2 separate regions of the Homo sapiens genome follow, and region 2 is linked to region 1. Evidence: promoter capture Hi-C in human tissues and cell types (Jung and others, 2019). All regions are on one chromosome and are shown on one strand. Each heading gives the region's core, a stretch centred on a gene start or on the middle of the fragment in contact. The rest is flanking DNA. Distances are from core to core; before and after follow the strand shown. Region 1 holds the start of CSH1 (chorionic somatomammotropin hormone 1). Region 2 has its middle 22 kb from the start of TEX2.

The links. The method cuts DNA at HindIII sites, captures the fragments that hold promoters and counts their contacts. A contact is called where the count stands out against the background at its distance.
Region 2: a fragment that was not itself captured here is called in contact with the fragment with the promoter of CSH1 in region 1 in 1 of the 25 tissues and cell types used here (lymphoblastoid cells).

The regions. Positions count from the first base shown.
Region 1 is chr17:63,893,041-63,899,442 of GRCh38, reverse strand. CSH1 (chorionic somatomammotropin hormone 1) reads left to right here and starts at 2,869. Exons shown (of 5, transcript NM_001317.6): 1 at 2,869-2,941; 2 at 3,208-3,368; 3 at 3,593-3,712; 4 at 3,806-3,970; 5 at 4,224-4,525. The coding sequence starts at 2,932. The coding sequence ends at 4,421. The HindIII fragment of the contact is 19,326 bases long and covers 1-4,329 here.
Region 2 is chr17:64,282,481-64,288,882 of GRCh38, reverse strand. No RefSeq gene overlaps it. Among named protein-coding and RNA genes, the nearest start is that of TEX2, 22 kb to the right of the region's middle. The HindIII fragment of the contact is 7,519 bases long and covers 1-6,402 here.

The DNA of each region.
Region 1 (6,402 bases), core at 1,620-4,119:
GTGGTCCCCAACTAGGGCCCCTGCCACCCTCTTTCCTAAGGGAGGCTGCAGACTTCTTCCATGGCCAAAAATCCACATCTAAGTCCCCAGCACTGGCTAAAAGACCCTGTCATGGGGGCTCCCTGTCCCAGCTGACATTGGAGGAAGGATGGTGGGGGAGGCAGGGACCCTCTTCTACTTGGAGCTCAGGGACCCTCTTCCATTCCCACCTGGCTCCTCCTCTTTGCTGGTGCTGGAAGGAGCAGGGGAAAGTGGTGACTCCACCCTCCCTTGACCCCATATTTCTCAGAGCTGGTATCATCGATGACACCCCTCTTGGATCCTCCTACAGGCCTGCCTGGAGAACAGCTCACAGCACAGTGCCCTCCCAGCAGATGATGAGTCTGGGGTGCTAGTCCAGTAATGCTTCAGGAATGACGGCAGAAAAAGGAGCTCTGTTTTCTGCTCTGAAAGTGGGGAGATGGCAGGGCCCCAGCATTCACATCCTAGGCCACAGGGGTGTGGGTGTTCAATGTTGGTTGCCAACACCACTGCCAACCACTTCTGGAAGCGTTTGCCTGTTTGTTTGCTTGTGTTTCTACAGAGTCAAGTGCTAGATGCTCTTAAACTCGGGGGGAAGATTTCACCACTAGAGAGGGTGCTCTTTCCTGCTGCCATCTCTGGGGGCATCTGATGCTTGTGACCTCCAGATTATATTGAAATAGCCCCAACTCTGGGCACCAGGAGACAGGAGGCTCAGTCCTGGCCTTCTCTGCCTTCACCTTTTCCTGCTGTGAGGTTTCCACAAGGCACCCCATGCCACTGGGCCATTCTCACCTGAGAATTGAGAAAGAACAATCTGCCCCTTATGGAAAGACAAAATCAGGCAAAGGGCCCCTTGTGTTGGGGGCAGGATCCCTGCACTCAGAGGGATATAGAAGCTGAAATAACTGGGTTGGGAGCGGTGGCTCATGCCAGTAATCTCAGTACTTTGGGAGGCCAGGGAGGGTGGATCACCTAAAGTCAAGAGCTCGAGACCAGCCTGGCCAACATAGTGAAACCCCGTCTCTATTTAAAAAGTACAAAACTTAGCCCGGCATAGTGGCGGGCGCCTGTAATCCCAGCTACTAGGGAGGCTGAGGCGGGAGAATCACTGGAACCCAGGAGGTGGAGGTTGCTGTGAGGCAACATCATGCCACTGCACTCCAGCCTCAGAGACAGAATGAGACTCCATCAAAAACAAGAAAGAAAGAAAGACAAAGAGAGAAAGAAAGAAAGAAAGAAAGAAAGAGAGAGAGAGAGAGAGAGAGAGAGAGAGAAAGAAAGAAAGAAAGAAAGAAAGAAAGAAAGAAAGAAAGAAAGAAAGAAAGAAAGAAGGAAAGAAAGAAAGGAAACTAAAATAACTAAATAACTGAGTAGCACCACACCACCTGCTCTGGAGAAAGGACTTTTGTTGTTGTTGTTGTTGTTGTTGTCGTTGTTGTGGTTGTTGAAATGGAGTCTCACTCTGGCGCCCAGGCTGGAGTGCCATGGCCCAATCTTGGCTCACGGCAACCTCTGAGTCCTGGGTTCAAGCGATTCTACCTCCTCACCCTCCGGAGTAACTGGGATTGCAGGCTTCTGCCACCACACACAGCTACTTTTGTATTTTTAAGAGATGGAGTTTTGCCATGTTGGCTAGTCTGGCCTTGAACTCCTGACCTCAAGTGATCCACCCACCTCAGTCTTCCAAAGTGCTGGGATTACAGGCATGAGCCACCATGCCCGGCCTGGAGAAAGGACTTTAAATGACGCAATGTGGGAAGAGCCAGGTTGTGGAGATCTGCTGCCCTGGCTGAGGTAGCTCATGCAATCAGTCTCTCTGAGCCTCAGTCTCCTGATCTGTGAAATGGGATGATACTCATACCTCCTACACAAGACAAGTTGCAGGTCAGACGTGAGAATGCACAGGCAGGCCTTTGACAACTGGATAAGCTCTACACAGGTCTGGAAAGGAGGAAGAGACAAAAGAGGACGGGCTTCCATGGCTGGATAGGGCCTCTTTCGGCGTGATGTGTTCTGAGTTTTAAAGCTGGGGAAGAGACTCAAATCTTCAAGAGCTCTTCCAACTTTGAGATTCTCTGTTGGTTTCAGGACTATGGGAGGAAGCGCTTGTGGTCCGTGTCTGTTCCCGGGATTTCTGTTTCTTGGTTTGTATCTCTGCTTCAGGTCCAAGGAGCTGGGGCAATACCTTGAGTCTGGGTTATTCATCCCCAGGGACCTGGGGGAGCCCCACCGCCTCCGCCCCAAGGTTCAGGGAAAGGGGAGAGCAATGTGTGGGGTTGGTTCTCTCTAGTGGTCAGTGTTAGCACTGCATCCAGCTGACTCAGGTGGGCCCAGGAGTCATCAGCAAAAGTGGAATTCAGGACTCAATGGTGCTCAGAACCCCCACAATCTATTGGCTGTGCTTGGCCCCTTTTCCCAACACACACATTCTGTCTGGTGGGTGGAAGTTAAACACGCGGGGAGGAGGAAAGGAATAGGATAGAGAGTGGAATGGGGTCGGTAGGGGTCTCAAGGACTGGCTATCCTGACAGCCTTCCCCGCGTTCAGGTTGACCAACATGGCCTGCAGCCAGAGGGCACCCACCTGACCCTTAAAGAGAGGACAAGTTGGGTGGAGTCTGTGGCTGACACTCTGTGCACAATCCTTACAACACTGGTGATGGTGAGAAGGGAAAGACGACAAGCCAGGGGGCATGATCCCAGCATGTGTGGGAGGAGCTTCTAAATTATCCACTAGCACAAGCCCGTCAGTGGCCCCATGCATAAATGTACACAGAAACAGGTGGGGTCAAGCAGGGAGAGAGAACTGGCCAGGGTATAAAAAGGGCCCACAAGAGACCGGCTCTAGGATCCCAAGGCCCAACTCCCCGAACCACTCAGGGTCCTGTGGACAGCTCACCTAGTGGCAATGGCTCCAGGTAAGCGCCCCTAAAATCCCTTTGGGCACAACGTGTCCTGAGGGGAGAGGCAGCGCCCTGTAGATGGGACGGGGGCACTAACCCTCAGGTTTGGGGCTTATGAATGTGAGTATCGCCATCTAAGGCCAGATATTTGGCCAATCTCTGAATGTTCCTGGTCTCTGGAGGGATGGAGAGAGAGAAAAAAAACAAACAGCTCCTGGAGCAGGGAGAGCGCTGGCCTCTTCCTCTCCGGCTCCCTCCATTGCCCTCCGGTTTCTCCCCAGGCTCCCGGACGTCCCTGCTCCTGGCTTTTGCCCTGCTCTGCCTGCCCTGGCTTCAAGAGGCTGGTGCCGTCCAAACCGTTCCCTTATCCAGGCTTTTTGACCACGCTATGCTCCAAGCCCATCGCGCGCACCAGCTGGCCATTGACACCTACCAGGAGTTTGTAAGTTCTTGGGGAATGGGTGCGGGTCAGGGGTGGCAAGAAGGGGTGACTTTCCCCCACTGGGGAAGTAATGGGAGGAGACTAAGGAGCTCAGGGTTGTTTTCTGAAGCGAAAATGCAGGCAGATGAGCATAGGCTGAGCCAGGTTCCCAGAAAAGCAACAATGGGAGCTGGTCTCCAGCATAGAAACCAGCAGTCCTTCTTGGTGGGGGGTCCTTCTCCTAGGAAGAAACCTATATCCCAAAGGACCAGAAGTATTCATTCCTGCATGACTCCCAGACCTCCTTCTGCTTCTCAGACTCTATTCCGACACCCTCCAACATGGAGGAAACGCAACAGAAATCCGTGAGTGGATGCCGTCTCCCCTAGGCGGGGATGGGGGAGACCTGTGGTCAGGGCTCCCGGGCAGCACAGCCACTGCCGGTCCTTCCCCTGCAGAATCTAGAGCTGCTCCGCATCTCCCTGCTGCTCATCGAGTCGTGGCTGGAGCCCGTGCGGTTCCTCAGGAGTATGTTCGCCAACAACCTGGTGTATGACACCTCGGACAGCGATGACTATCACCTCCTAAAGGACCTAGAGGAAGGCATCCAAACGCTGATGGGGGTGAGGGTGGCGCCAGGGGTCACCAATCCTGGAACCCCACTGGCTTCGAGGGCTGGGGGAGAGAAATACTGCTGCCCTCTTTTTAGCAGTAAGGCGCTGACCCAAGAGAACTCACCTTATTCTTCATTTCGCCTGGTGAATCCTCCAGGCCTTTCTCTACACCCTGAAGGGGAGGGAGGAAAATGGATAAATGAGAGAGGGAGGGAACAGTGCCCAAGCGCTTGGCCTCTCCTTCTCTTCCTTCACTTTGCAGAGGCTGGAAGACGGCAGCCGCCGGACTGGGCAGATCCTCAAGCAGACCTACAGCAAGTTTGACACAAACTCGCACAACCATGACGCACTGCTCAAGAACTACGGGCTGCTCTACTGCTTCAGGAAGGACATGGACAAGGTCGAGACATTCCTGCGCATGGTGCAGTGCCGCTCTGTGGAGGGCAGCTGTGGCTTCTAGGTGCCCGAGTAGCATCCTGTGACCCCTCCCCAGTGCCTCTCCTGGCCCTGAAGGTGCCACTCCAGTGCCCACCAGCCTTGTCCTAATAAAATTAAGTTGTATCATTTCATCTGACTAGGTGTCATTCTATAATATTATGGGGTGGAAGGTGGTGGTATGGAGCAAGGGGTAGGTGGAAAGAAGACCTGGAGGGCCTTCAAGGTCTATTGGGAACTAGGCCACTGAAATATAAGAGGTTTGGCTGTTCCTGGGCCAGAAAAAAGCTGACACATCACTGCTGTCTATTACTCACTAAGGCCATTCCACCAGCTCAGTGGTCCCAGCTTGCTGGTCACAGCCCATTGGTCATCTCAGAGATGACTTGAAGGCATTTCTTCCTCCCCCACCATCACCAGCAACACCAAACCTAGCCCCCCAGGAGCGGAAAGAAATGAAAACAAGATGGGCTATTAAGTGCAGAGGCAAAAACTCCCCAACAGGTGAGGAAACAATGGCATAGAATTACTTGTGTTCGGAAGAATTTTAAGATGAGTATTCCTTAAGCCCAACTACTCTCGGGAAATGAGAACAATGCAAAAATGAGTTTGAGACATACAGAACCAGAGCATTTGGAATCTGAATTAGGGCAAGGGAAGTGGAAGAGAGATTTTATTTGGGGTTGTAAATGCAGTGCCAACAGGTTCCAGGTAGATAACAATGTAAGCAATGAGGGCTGGATGGGAGGGGATAAATCCCAGATGACACTCACTTCCCTTCGGGGGATGCAACACAGAGGGGTGGGAACCAGCACAATCTGCAGAACTCAGGCCCCTGCTGAGGTGGGACCCACCCAGCCTGTCACCATCAGGACTGCAGGGACACGGCTTCCAGACCTTCTGACCTTTTGAGACAGCCAGGACATCCAGACTTTTACAGGAATTCTAACATTTAAACACTGGCAACACATATTGAAAATCTTTTAAGGGCAAAAATTAACCGAAACACACATGGTCTCCAAGCTGTCTGTGAGCAATTTTGTTCTAAGAGATGTTGATTGGGGTAACTTGGTGTAAGGGAAAGAATCAGAAAGATTTGGGCTGTATGTAATTTAGTGCCCCCGAATAAATTACTTGACCAAGCTGAGATAATAATATATTGCTTTACAAGGATTATGTGAGGACTAAATGCAATGGTATTTTTGATATATTATAGTACTCAAGAAATTCTAGCTATTTCTGCATTGAATTTTTGGATGTTTTGTGTTTTCTGATGGAGTGTCTAAATACCTGTAGTGAAATTATATTGTTTTCCTAATGACAATTAGGAAATAATAAACATCTCAGATGTTTATTATTTCCAAATAAGCACTAAAGAGCGGTGGTTAGTTAAGAGTTTGCTCTCCCAAGCACCTTGGCTAAGTGACTGGTGACCTATAAATCGATGCTAAGATGCTCACAGGAACTCTAGTATCCAAAAATGATTTCATAAAGTCAGGAATTGTTTTGCAATGCAAATAATCAACCCCCCAATTAATCTTCTTTAGAAGTTCGATTCTTAAATGCTATAATGAATTTTCTTGATAATGAGACCCACTTGTATTCATTTTTGGCTATTTTACCATTAATAACTCAGTCCTTGGGAAGTGGTTGAAAGTTGAACTAAACAGAATTCTGGAGCTGCTGCATTTCTCAGCTCAGAAGCCATTCCTGCATCTTGCATTGTTCTTCTACTATCGGGCTTTAAAATTATGGCATTTTGGAGTTAGAAGGGCCTCATAAGTCAGCCTAGTTTCTTCTACTTTGGGAATCTTATCCTACAACATCCATTACAGTCAGTATTCCATTTACGAGTGTGTAGCACTAGAACCAAGGGAATCACTTTCACAAGGCTCCTCATTCTATTAAACCACTCTCATTGCAAAAAACTATTTCTTGCACGAAGCTGGAATCAATATTCCTGCAATGTCCTTCATTTGGCCTTAAAATTATTTAGAAATCTCAGT
Region 2 (6,402 bases), core at 2,351-4,850, 390 kb before region 1:
GGTTGCAGCGAGCCAAGATCGCGCCACTGCACTCCAGCCTGGGCAATAGAGCAAGACTCCATCTCAAAACAAACAAACAAACAAACAAAAAAATTCATGTACACATTTCTGTGTGGTGGGCATAAATATTCAGCCTCAATTTCCAACAGCACTTTGGCTGAGGGTGGGCTTGGGACACAGAAAAGGAAGGCGGCCACAAAACCCAGCCTGTCTTCTGACTATGACACTGATAGAACCCTCAAGGAAAAGGAAGACAGGAGAGCCGGCTTCCTCCTAGAAAATTCAGCCTAGACCAGGCACGCTGGCTCATGCCTGTAATCCCAACACTTTGGGAGGCTGAGGCGGGCAGATCACTTGAGGTCAGGAGTTCAAGACCAGCCTGGCCAACATGGCAAAACCTTGTCTCTACTAAAAAAAGAACATATAAAAATTAGCCAGGCGTGGTGGTGGATGCCTGTATTCCCAGCTACACAGGAGGCTGAGGCACAAGAATTACTTGAACCCTGGAGGTGGAAGTTGCAGGGAGCCAAGATTGCACCACTGCACTCCAGCCTGGGTGACAGAGCAAGACTCCGTTTCAAAAAAAATAGAAAAGAAAATTCAGCCTAATAAACAAGAGTTGAGGACTTGCTGTGTGCCTGGTTCTGAGACGGGAGCTGGGGGCTGCAGCCTCCCTCCCTCCTCCCTCTTCCTCCTTCCTTCTTTCCAGCATTCCTGTATTAGCATCTACTCTCTGTCAGACTCTCTGGGGGTACCCCCAAGGGTCTTAACCTAATTTTAAAAGGCAGGCAGTTGAATTCAGAATTCTAAGTGTCCCGGTGACTGATGTCGGGCCAGGACAGGAACTACGGTCACCCATGAGAGGGACACCCAACCCAGTTCTAGGGAATCAGGGAAGGCCTCTCGGAGGTTCTTCCTACATTATATTATATAAATTTCCAAACATACAGAAAGCCTTACATGCTCACCACCCAGGCTTAACAGTTATTAGCATCTTGCTAGATTTATTTCTAACTTCCTTCTGAAGGATTTTAAGGTAAACTTCAGACATTGCAGAGGTTCACCCCCAAATACCTCAGTGTTCCTTTTTTTTTTTTTTTTTTTGAGACAGAGTCTCACTCTGTCACCAGGCTGGAGTGCAGTGGCGCAATCTTGGCTCGCTGGAATGCAGTGGCGCAATCTTGGCTCACTGCAACCTCCGCCTCCCGAGTTCAAGGGATTCTCTGGCCTCAGCCTCCCAAGAAGCTAGGATTACAGGAGTGCACCACCACGCCCGATTAATTTTTACATTTTTAGTAGAGACAGGGTTTCACCATGTTGGCCAGGATGGTCTCAATCCCCTGATTTTTTGATCCGCCCGCCTTGGCCTCCCAAAGTGCTGGGATTATAGGCATGAGCCACCACGCCCGGCCTCCTTTTAAAAACAAAGATAGCTGGGCACGGTGGCTCACGCCTGTAATCCCAGCGCTTTGGGAGGCCGAGGCGGGTGGATCGCCTGAGGTCAGGAGTTTGAGGCAAGCCTGGCCAACATGGTGAAACCCCGTCTCCACTAAAAATACAAAAATTAGCCAGACGTGGTGGCACATGCCTATAATCCCAGCTACTTGGGAGGCTGAGGCAGGAGAATCGCTTGAACCCAGGAGGCGGAGGTTGCAGTGAGCCAAGATCATGCCATTGCACTCCAGCCTGGGGGATAAGAGCGAGACTTCGTCTCAAAAAAAAAGAACACACAAAGATAATTTCCTACATAGGGATACCTTTATCACACCAAACGTAGGTCATCATATTTCTTTGATAATCCAATGCCCAGTTCATATTCAAATTTCCCCAGTTATTTCAAGGACATTACGTATAGTTCTTTTGTTTGAAAAAGGATCTAATTACAGTGGAGGTGCCCTTTAATCTGCAACAAGAAGGCAGGGTGAGAAGGCTTTGTGGGCAAAGCAGCTCCTGGGCAAAGGCTCAGGGGGACAGTCTGGGCCTGGGGAAATTGACGAACTCAGCTTGAGGAAGATGGGCCCAGTTCGGAGGCCCTACTGGCCCTGCTGTGTTCCCACTGGAGGAGAGAGAGCGAGCCCTCCTAGGCACAGCTGTGACATGCCCAGAGAGTGGGGCTCTGATGAAAGGGCCTGCTGGTTCTTGCTATGATCCCCAGGGCCTGATTCAGGACACACCTCGGGCTGGAGGGCCTTCTTCGAACCTTCCTTCAGTCAAGGGAGCGGTCAGTCCAACAATCCACGGCTCTGGAAAGTTCCCCCTGAAGATTGGTTCTGTCCTGCTCACCCTGTGCTCCCTATGGGGACAGGCCCTGCCTTGGACTCCCAGGACAGTGTCTTTCTACTGTCTCTCAAGACAGGCAGGGCACTTGTATTAATCCACTTTCACACTGCTGAGAAACACATACCCCAGGCCGGTCACAGTGGCTCACGCCTGTTATGCCAGCATCTTGGGAGGTTGAGGCAGGCAGATCACCTGAGGTCAGGAGTTTGAGACCAGCCTGGCCAACATGGCGAAACCCTGTCTCTACTAAAAATGCAAAAATTAGCCAGGCGTGGTGGCAAGCGCCTGTAATCCCAGCTACTTGGGACGCCAAGGCAGGAGAATCGCTTGAACCAGGGAGGCAGGGGCGGCAGTGAGGCAAAATAGCACCACTGCACTCCAGCCCGGGCAACAGAGTGAGACTCTGTCTCAAAATAAATAAATAAAAATAAAAGACATACCTGACACACCCAAGACTAGGCGATTTACAAAAGAAAGAGATTTAATGGACTCACAGTTCCACGTGGCTGGGGAGGCCTCACAATCATGGCAGAAAGTGAAAGGCACGTCTCACGTGGCAGCAGACAAGGGAAGAGAGTTTGTGCAGGGAGACTGCCCTTTATAAAACCATCAGATCTCATGAGACTTATTCACTATCACATGAATAGCATGGGAAAGACCTGCCCCCATGATTCAATTACCTCCCACTGGGTCACTCCCAACACATGGGAATTGTGGGAGCTACAATTCAAGATGAGATTTGAGTGGGGACACAGCCAAACCATATCAGGACCCTTCCTCCAGCCCTGTTAGGACATGTGGCAGATCCTGACTATAACAGCCCAAGACAGTGCTGTCTCTCCCTCAGGGCCCCATCATCCAGCCCTCTCAACTCCAGGATGGGCTGCCATGGTCCTCTGGGTGCCTTTGCCTGGTTCTAGTCACTGTGTTGAATGTCAGAGAAGGAAATAGCTGCAGTCTCTGTTTAGAGCCCTGTCCTTTGAGAACAGCAGGTACTCTTGATGTGGGCTGTAGATGACCTTTTGAAAATCAGACCCTGCTTCCCAGGAGCCTTTCATCATGTTTCTGAGATGTTGCTCTTCTCTCTTTGATGGAACTTCAGACAGAAGCCAATCTGCAGCCTAAGCCTGCCCGGGCCTTGAGTCCACTTAACAACCTAGGAGCCCTGTTGGATGTGCCAGAGGAGTATTGATAATCAGGGAGCAGAGATAGAGGAGTTAGGCAGGGGCAGCTTGGCCCTCTACGACCTCCTGGCACAGCACCATGAAGCCTAGGTGTCTGGCCCCTGACAATTTGCTCCATGCAGCAAGGGGCAGGGTTGGGAGGGGTCTTTCTTATTCATCAGCCAGTCAATAAAGCATCTTTCCAGGTGGGGCTTTAGTTCAGGCCTTACCTTTCCAGGAACTTCTGTTTGTTTGTTTTGAGATGGAGTTTCGCTCTTGTTGCCCAGGCTTGAGTGCAATGGCACAATCTCGGCTCACTGCAACCTCCGCCTCACGAGTCCAAGCGATTCTCCTGCTTCAGCCTCCCAAGTAGCTGGAACTATAAACACGCACCACCACGCCTGGCTAACTTTTTGTATTTTTAGTAGAGACGGGGTTTCACGATGTTGGCCAGGGTGGTTGAACTCCTGATCGCAGGTGATTCTCCCGCCTCGGCCTCCCAAAGTGCTGGGATTACTGGCATGAGCCACTGCCCTCAGCCTCTGGAAACTTCTTTATCAGCTTACTTCATTAATCAAGCTGTCGGGAGTTGGGTGAATAATTCAGGAGGCCAATTTCATTCAGTCATTCATTTATTCACTCATTCAACATACATTTTTGAGCACACGCTGTTTTCCAGGCACAATTCTAGGGGCTGGGCATATAGTGGTGAAAAAGACAAAGTTCCCACCCTCACAGGGCTGTAGTCTGGCAAATTCGCCTGCATTTAATTGGTTTCAGCAAGAAACAGAATGGCCAGACCACTGAAGGCTCAAGTCAGCTGACCCACCACAGACAGGATCAGCAGGAATGGTGTGGCCAGTAGACCTAATGACCAACGGATATAATTTTAATATATATCCTGGCCAAATCTCATGTTGAACTGTAAACCCTGGTGTTGGAGGCGAGGCCTGGTGGGAGATGTCTGGGTCATGGGAGCGGATCCCTCATGGCTTGGTGCTGTCCTCGTGATAGTAAATGAGTTCTCAGGAGATCTGGTTGTTTAAGTATGTGGCACCCCTCACAACCACCACTCTCTCTCTTGCTCCTGCTCTGGCCACGTGACATGTCTGCTCCCGCTTCATCTTCAGCCAGGAATAAAAGCACCCTGAGGCCTCCCCAGAAGCCAAGCAGGTGCTGGCACCATGGTTGCACAGCCTGCAAAACCATGACCCAATTAAACCTCTTTTGTAAATTACTCAGTCTCAGGTATTTCTTTATAGCAATGCAAGAATGGCCTAATACACCAGCTTTGGTCTCTGGACTACTAGAAGCATCTGAGTACCACAGCGGTGCCCACTTTGGAAAACCCTATTCTATGTCATCACGTACTGGTCATACAAATTGAGACACTGCCCTAGTCATTACAACCAGCCTTGGCTGTCCCTAAATCCCCCTCAGGCACCCACTACTCATCCTTCCCTAGAGAGATCACTTCTATAAATGACACACATCATCCATGACATGGGGATTCCACCTGAATTTACTTAGGGGAATGGTTCAAACCGTATATTTTAACTACACCCGGAGATTCTTCTTCAAGATTCCTTTAAGCGTTTGTCTTAGTCTGTTCCTGCTGCTATAACAAAATACCTTAGTCTGGGTGATTTATAAATAGTAGAAATTTATTTCTCACAGTTCTGGAGGCTGGAAAGTCCAAGATCAAGGGATTGGCAGATCCAGTATCTGGTGAGGGCTCCATCTCTGCTTTCAAGATGGTGCCTTGTTGCTGCGTCCTCCAGAAGAGACAAATGCTGTCTCCTCACATGGTGGAAAGGGAGAAAGGGATGAAAAGGACAAATAGGCTCCCTTCAGCCCTTTTATAAGAACCCTAATCCCATTCATGAGGGCAAGGCCCTCTGACCTAGTCATCTCCTAAAAGCCCCACCTCATGCATTGGGAACGAAATTTCAACACACATTTCGAAGAGACACACACATTCAAACCACAGTAGGGTTGTTCCTTTTAAACATTATTTAAAGGCACCCATATGTATGTAATAATAATAAGGGGGGCTGGGCACGGTGGCTCACGCCTGTAATCCCGGCACTTTGGGATGCCGAGGCGAACAGATCACTTGAGGTCAGGAGTTCGAGACCAGCCTGGCTAACATGGTGAAACCCCATCTCTACTAAAAATACAAAAACCAGCTGGGTGTGGTGGCACGTGTGCCTGTAGTCCCAGCTACCTGGGAGGCTGAGGCAGGAGAATCGCTTGAAACCAGGAGGCAGAGGTTGCTGTGAGCAGAGATCACACCACTGCACTCCAGCCTGGGCAACAGAGTGAGACTCTGTCTCAAAAATAATAATAAGGGCTTGGGGCTTTACCTATATTAAATAATTATGATTAAATGTAAATATAAGTGTAATTAAATTATTACACTAAATAGTCTTCACAACAAGCTTGAGAGCTGGGTATGAAGATTATCATGTTCTTTTCACAGATGAAGAAGCTGTGGCTCAGCAGGTTTGGGGGCAGAGCCAGGAGGAAATCCGCCATCTGCCTCCAGAGCCCTGCTTCGATGACATGTGTCACTCTTGAAACAATGCCACACTCTGGAGGAAGTTTTCCAGATTCCTCCGGAAGAGGACAGAGACTGGCAATTCCGGAAAGGTCATCTAGGGAGTGCCAGGTCCCCAAACCCACTGAGCCTTTGTCAATTACAGATCCCCAGGGCCCCCCACCCCCGACCGCCTGCGTCAGGATTTCTGGGCAGACACAACAAAATTATGTCAAAGCGCCCCAAACACTTCAGAGCCAAGTGGCCCCGCAGCTGGTTTAGGGGCCTTCCAGAACAGTTGGCCCCGGGGGGATTCGATGTGGGTGGAGGACGCAGGTATGGGTTCCTCTCGGACCACCCTCTCTCAGGTGGGCTTCCAGCGGGCAGGGGCCAGCTTTTCTCTGCACTAGTGGGTGGGCT